2 separate regions of the Homo sapiens genome follow, and region 1 is linked to region 2. Evidence: promoter capture Hi-C in 16 types of primary human blood cells and fetal thymus (Javierre and others, 2016). All regions are on one chromosome and are shown on one strand. The core of a region is centred on a gene start or on the middle of the fragment in contact, and the rest is flanking DNA. Distances in the headings are between cores, read along the strand shown.

The links. The method cuts DNA at HindIII sites, captures the fragments that hold promoters and counts their contacts. A CHiCAGO score of 5 or more calls a contact.
Region 1: a contact is called between a fragment that was not itself captured here and the fragment with the promoter of SNAPC3 in region 2, in 12 of 17 cell types (naive CD8 T cells, non-activated CD4 T cells, activated CD4 T cells and 9 more). The highest score is 12.1, in naive CD8 T cells.

The regions. Positions count from the first base shown.
Region 1 is chr9:15,280,466-15,283,949 of GRCh38, forward strand. The region is part of intron 1 of TTC39B (tetratricopeptide repeat domain 39B); the gene reads right to left. Among named protein-coding and RNA genes, the nearest start is that of TTC39B, 25 kb to the right of the region's middle. The HindIII fragment of the contact is 1,320 bases long and covers 1,083-2,402 here.
Region 2 is chr9:15,421,262-15,424,768 of GRCh38, forward strand. SNAPC3 (small nuclear RNA activating complex polypeptide 3) reads left to right here and starts at 1,615. Exons shown (of 9, transcript NM_001039697.2): 1 at 1,615-1,932; 2 at 2,648-2,725. The coding sequence starts at 1,619. RefSeq lists a silencer at 1,342-1,631 and an enhancer at 1,972-2,091. The HindIII fragment of the contact is 2,004 bases long and covers 60-2,063 here.

The DNA.
Region 1 (3,484 bases), core at 493-2,992, 140 kb before region 2:
TGGCAAATACGAGAAATTATTTAGCCCAAAAAACTCACTGCCTTCAAGATTTAAATTCAAGGGAGAAATAACACTAAGAACAAAGACTGCAGAGTCCCGCTATCAGCTCCATCACTTACCAACTATGTGTGGCCCGAACAGTGATGATGATACCCCGCTTTTGCTTAGCTGAGACCACCAAGCAGCCTCCTGGCCCTTGGTATGGTTGCTGCAGCTAGCTGGCGGAAAAGGGGCCAGCAGGGGAGTTTGCTAGAAGAGGGTCAGGAGAGGCAGTGGGTATCCCTAAAAGTTAATATATTGAGAACTTAGCTTGAGTCTGGTCCTTCCCAATTCCAAAAGTAGGAGGAGTAAAGAATGCGAATGCTTGCAGTGGGGTTTAGTAGAATGCCTCTCTCAGGGCTCCCCCTACCATTCTAGAGAGTCGAGGCACCAGCCATTCTTGCCAGTCTCATCACAGTGCTTCCCAAAGAGGCTGTTTTGTGTGTTGAAAAGATGAAAACAATGCAATTATCCCAAACAGTATTGAGAAGAATAATTTATTTCTTTTTTCTTTCTTTTTTGTCTTTTTTTTTGTTTAAATCATCAGTCCCTATTCTGGAAGAGGTACATCCCAGCATCTAGCCCAGATGTCCTTTTATGCAATAGTTATTTTAACAAACTTTCTTTATTTCCTTCCTTTTCTCTTTCTAAACTAAAAGGAAAAAAAATCTAAAAACAACAACAACAACAACAAAAACCCACTGTGTGTGGTCTTGGGCAAGGTACTTCTCTAAGATTCTTATTCATCACCTGTAAAATGGGAATAACAGTGCCATCAAACTCATGGGGTTGAAGAATTAAATGAGATGTACGTAGGCTTTAACATGATGCCTATTCACAGTAAGTACGAAATAATGTCAGCTCCCATTAAATTATTACTTTCATTATGATTACTGCAGGGAAAAGTTGTGTGTCCAAATACTGGACCACTCATACAGTGCCCTCCCTCTCTTGGTATCTATCCTTATAGGTAATTTTGGTATTAGCAAAGCAGAGATGCTGAGAAGTTAAATCTGTCCTTTTGGGGCAATCTAAGGGAGAAAAGCTTAAGACTTCTACATATTAATTTCTGCTAAGACTAAATTATCCTCCACTCCTACCAACATCCCCCCTGCAACAGCAAAAAAAAAAAAAAAAAAAAAAAAATGGCAAAAAGCTAAATGCCTCTTCTGCATTTTTTTTTTCTTTTTGAGACAGGGTCTCACTCTGTCACTCACGCTGGAGTGCAGTGGCACAATCTAGGCTCACTGCAATCTCCGCCCCCAGGTTCAAGCAATTCTCCCACTTCAGCTTCCCTGAGTAGCAGGGACTACAGGCACATGCCATGTAGTCCGGCTAATTTTTGTATTTTTTGGTAGAGGTGGGGTTTCACTATGTTGGTCAGGCTGGTCTCAAACTCCTGACCTCAAGTGATCCACCCACCTCAGCCTCCCAAAGTGTTGAGATTACAGGCATGAGCCACCACACACAGACTTACCTACATATTTTATTATGTAGGAAAACAAACTTTCAATTATACCGTAAAACAAATTAACTTGTTTTACAGTTAAAAGAAATTTAACTATAAATTAATTTGTTCACCAAATTGCTTGGTGAACCAATACTATCATAAGTAAAATGCTGACATTTTGGTTTCTAACAAGAAGCAATTAAACATAGACACTTACTCAAAACTCGCAAAAAATAGAGACTGCCAGAAGTGATAATTAGTATAACAGACCATATAACTAGTATCTCAAATTTCATATACATTATCCACCAAAAAATGAATTAAAAATTCTAAACATGTTAAAAGACAAAGACTGACACTCTGGTAAAACAAATGCAGTAAAAGGAATTTGAAATGACTGCAGAGGGATAGATACCAAGGAACCCTGGGGGCTCATGGAAATATTCTGCCTTAGTTGTACTGGGGATTAAATGGGTGCATACATTTATAAAACTTAATCTTAACATGGTGCTACTCTTAGCACGTACTCTTAACATGGGTTTACTGCATGTAAGTTATACCATGAGAAAGGTGGTCTTTAAAAGAATTTGGGAAAAATAAATAATTCTAAAATTCCATATGAGGTGTTAAAAATTTGGATGCTAACGAAGTCACAATAATGGCTAACACACCCTCTACAACACTCTATGAGCCAGACACTGCTCCACAAACTTTTACATATAACAACTGATTTGCTCTTCATAAAAACCCTCGGTAGTGGCTTCATACTCTACTCAGTTTACATATGATGAAACTGGAGCACAGAGAGGTTAAGTAACTCACCCAAGGTCACAAAGCATGTATAAGTGGCAGAATCAGGATTTAAACCCACAGAGTCCAGCTTCAGAATCTGATCTACACTCATTCTCATTAAAGCTTTTAAAATGATGTTTGAGAAGCAAATTTTGTAAATTCAACAAACTGAGCTATTTGACAAAGTGAACTTCATCAAACTGAGCCAGAGCTGTACAGACACTGTAACTTTTCTTCACACCGTATTTCTCAATCGTAATTACAAAATTAGGTACAACTATTTGTTTCACGTCTGCCCTCCCTCCAGGCGGCATTTACCATAAGGCATATCTATAAGCTCTATCCACAAGCACCAAGCGCCACGCCTACCCACAGCAACCACACCAAGATACTACTGGAAGGAATCAATAAAGAAATAAATGAATGAGTACAGGAATACACTAATGTGTTTATTTATGTATCAAGTGGAATATCACTAAAGACAGAAATTTTATTCACATGTGTATATAAGTATGCTATTTCTTAAATGAATGCAAGGCTATTCTGATTAATAAGCTATAACACTGTCACAGAACATATCATTTCTCTGTCACTATGGAGATATACATAATATTTTGTAAGCATGTCTGTACACCAAGCATTAGCTTTTGCACCTTTATGCATTGTCTCATGTAAACTTGACATTTCTGTAAAACAGGTGCAATTATCATTCCCACAGCTAACAACTGGTTTATACACAGGCCTATTTGATTCCATAGCCTGAGTTCCTTTTCATGCCAGGAGAACTTTTTACATACAGAGAACTCAGTCAATAAGATTCGCAGCAGAACTCTCAGTGGAACCTGACAAGTAGTTCTAAAGTTATCAAGAAGGAAAAAAAATTGTAGGATTTGCCCTGAAAAATTGAAACTATGGAATTGGCACAGGAACATATATACAGATCAATAGAACATAATAAAGAATACAGACAGGGATTCCTGTGCATATCGGAATTTTATTATTCAGTTACGATTTTACAGTAGAGAGAAAATATTTAATAACTGATGCTAAGGATATTGGTTGTCTACTAAGACAAAAATGAAATTAAACCCATATACAAGTTTCCATATAAAGAGATAAATATAAAAATTTTAAAAAATGGGTATTTTTTAAAATAATCTTAAAACAGGGACAGTCTTTCTAAGCAAAACACAAAGACCAGAA
Region 2 (3,507 bases), core at 365-2,864:
TGACCGAGGGGCAATAAGGCACAAAAAGAGACTGAGGCAAGTTTCAGAGCAGGAGTGGAAGCTTATTTAAAAGGCCTTTAGGAAAGAAAGGAAAGCACGCTCGGAAGAGTCCCAAGCTGTCACTGAGGTCAACTGTGATATTGACCTCGATCCTAGGACTTTACAGGCTGGCTCCTTTCCCATGATTCTTCCCTTAGGGTGGGCTGCCTCCATGCGCAGTGCCCTCCTTACCCTTGGGAAGTGAGCACAGCGCAATATGTATGAAGTTGTATGCGTGCCCATCTGAGGCTTTCTTCCCTTTTCCGATAGAGTCCCCCTGAAAGGTCATACTCCCCGATTTTGTCTCTTAATGCATATGCCCAGGAAGTTGCTTCTCCCTGTCACCTGCATTCAACGAGCACTTTAGTGCAACAGGTGTGGGCCATCAGGAAATGGCCTCTCCCTGGCACCGGCTGCCAATTTATCACTTTTAGAGGCAATGTGATAAATGCCTAAGCATCACCCCACATTCCTAGTGGGTGAGGGAAGAGCCCTCTCCTGCCCTGCTCATGCCTAACTACCTGTAACAAACCTTGTAAACATTAAGCCAGCCACCAAAAGACCATATAATTCCGTTTATATTAAATGTCCAGATTAGTTAAATCTAGAGAGACAAAGTAGGTTCTTGGTTGGCTAGGGCTGGAGGAGTTGGGAGGATCAGGGGTGATAGCTAAAAAGTACAAGTTTCTTCTTTCGAGTGGTAAAAATGCTCTCAAATAGTGGTGATGGTTGCCCAAGCCTGTGAATATACCAAAAATCACTGAACACTTCAAATGGGTGAATTATATGGCATGTGATTACAGTCTAATAAATAAATAGTATGTCCTGCTGTATCCTTCAGGGCCTCTGAGAAATGGAGAGAGCTCCATCTGAAGCCAGACTGAGTTCCGATCCTGCTTCTATTTTCCCCGCAGGTAAATCCTTCCTCAACAGCAACACGGGGTGATACGCCCTATCCGGAAAGGTTGTTGTAATTTTTAAAAACATTAAAAACATACATTAGGGTTAATCATGTAGCGTGTGATACACAGACGCTCTGAAACACTACTGCACACGCACACCAACATGGGGCCTCTGCGGAGCTTGTGAAAGAACCAGATCTGGAGGGCTGGTCGTGTCCCTGGTCTCGGCCCTCGCCCTCCTTGTTTCTTAGGCTCTAAAGCAATCAGGCAGCAGAGCAGTCCTTGAACCCCAGTCAAGAAAAAGCCCTGCACCCCTTAGTCCGAAAGCCGCAAGGAACGGGGCCTAAGCGCCTGGCGAGGCCGCCCTACCGGGCAGAGACAGTTGCTACGTAACTCGGGGACCAGAAACCCAGCCCCACCCGCTGCGGTTAACCGACAGCCGCAACGGTTCCCGCACCGCCCGGGTCGGAGAACAATGCTGCGCCCTGCACGTAGAGCCTCGCGGTGCCGCGCCCTGGGGCGGGCCTGCCCATGGCCTGCCGGGAAATGTAGTTTCTGATGCCCTGCCCGCGCCGCCTCGCCGCTCGCCGGCCGGGCGCCCCAAGCAACTACAACTTCCATCACGCTCTGCGAGGCCTTGATCTGCAGGCTTTTGCAGGGGAAGGAGTGGGGCGAACATGGCTGAAGGAAGCCGAGGTGGCCCTACGTGTAGCGGGGTGGGTGGCAGGCAGGACCCAGTCTCCGGCAGTGGCGGCTGCAACTTTCCAGAGTATGAGCTTCCCGAGCTAAATACGCGCGCTTTCCATGTGGGCGCCTTTGGGGAGCTGTGGCGGGGCCGTCTGCGCGGGGCCGGGGACTTGTCGCTGAGGGAGCCGCCGGCATCCGCTCTGCCTGGGAGCCAGGCAGCTGACTCCGACCGGGAGGATGCCGCGGTGGCCAGGGATCTGGACTGCAGCCTGGAGGCGGCGGCTGAGCTGAGGGCGGTGTGCGGGTGAGTGCGGAGCAAAGGGGCTCTTGCAGCTTGGGGTCAAACAGGGTGCAGCCTTGCTCGTGCGCTCCTCTGGGACTCATCCCTGAGAAGGGCCTGTGGTTTAGACCTGGGCTAGGAGTATTACCCTTTAAAGCTTTCAACCCGCTGGAGCCTTCCTGGGACACCAGGAGAAGTCCTGGGACCCGAATGCACAGTTTCTACGAGTTGGAGCAAAGGGACAAGACAGCTGCATCAAAGACTAGTTTTTCCATTTGCTTATTCTAAGAGTGCTTGTTAATAAAGAAAAGCAATCAGGGCAACAGCGACGTGTACCTGCCATTGACAGACACTTTGACAATGGAGGAACCTGAGTAATGGTGAAGCTGCGGGAGACTTCATCAGAGGAGTGTTAAAACCCCGACTAACTGGTTTCTTTTGGGGACCTTCCGGGTATTCTGTTACTGAAATATTTCTTAAAAGTGCCTTATTTGGGGATGAAAATATAAAAATAACTTTAATCTCTTTCTCCATTTAACAGTACTGGCTGCCTTCATCGGCCTTTTCATTATAAAATATAATCACAGAAATCGTTGTCTTAAGTTCTGGCCTCTCTGAGCCGCCTGCTGGATTTTATCTGACTTCGTAATTCAGTAATGTATTTAGGAAAACAACCCTAACTCGCTGTGAACCAGATGCAGAGTCGACCTTAAAGTATTGCTTTTCCTTTTTGTTTTAGCCTTGATAAACTGAAATGCCTTGAGGACGGTGAGGATCCAGAAGTCATTCCGGAGAATACTGACCTGGTGACTTTGGGGTATGGAGGACTTGGTTTTTATGACCTATTTATTTAAACATTTTTTCAACATTATGTTTTGAAAAGTTGAAAGTGCAGTATTGATTGTTGTCTGTATACCCACCCCTTAAATTCAGCTGTTCTTAATATTTGACCATATTTACTTTAGCCGTGTGTATGGGATGCCTGCTGTGTGTTTTTTCATTTTGCTATCCCCCATTCAGTAAGTTAGACATGATAATTTACCCGTAAATACATAAGCATATAGCTTCTAAAAGTATCATTCTCCTACATAATTATTGTGGTATTATTATACCTAAGAAAACCGTAAATACATAATCTATAATATTCAGTCCATATTCAAACTTGTGTTTATTTTTTAATATTTTTGAATGTTTGTTTATAGAGGTAATCTACTTAGATCTGGGGGGCAACCTAAATACTCTGACAGTGTTTTTCAAACTATTTGTGGTAAAGGACAGTTCTTGTTTTTAAAAATTTTTAATCTTTGACAGATTTATGCTTTGATAAAATACTATAAAAAGAATTACTAGAAAAATGGAATTAAAAAAGACAAACACAATATAAGTTCAAATTTTTAATTAAATTCAATAGACAAAATTATTCAATGATAATGGAAGTTTCTAAATGCTTACTGTCATTTTCTGTACAGATTGGTTAACAAATAGGTCATAGATGAATTCTGGTCTGCCTACCACTCTTTGAGAGGCACTGTTGTATGATAATATAGAGAAATTGTGCATGTAATAGTGAAATTTATAATTTCCAATTTATAGTCCACT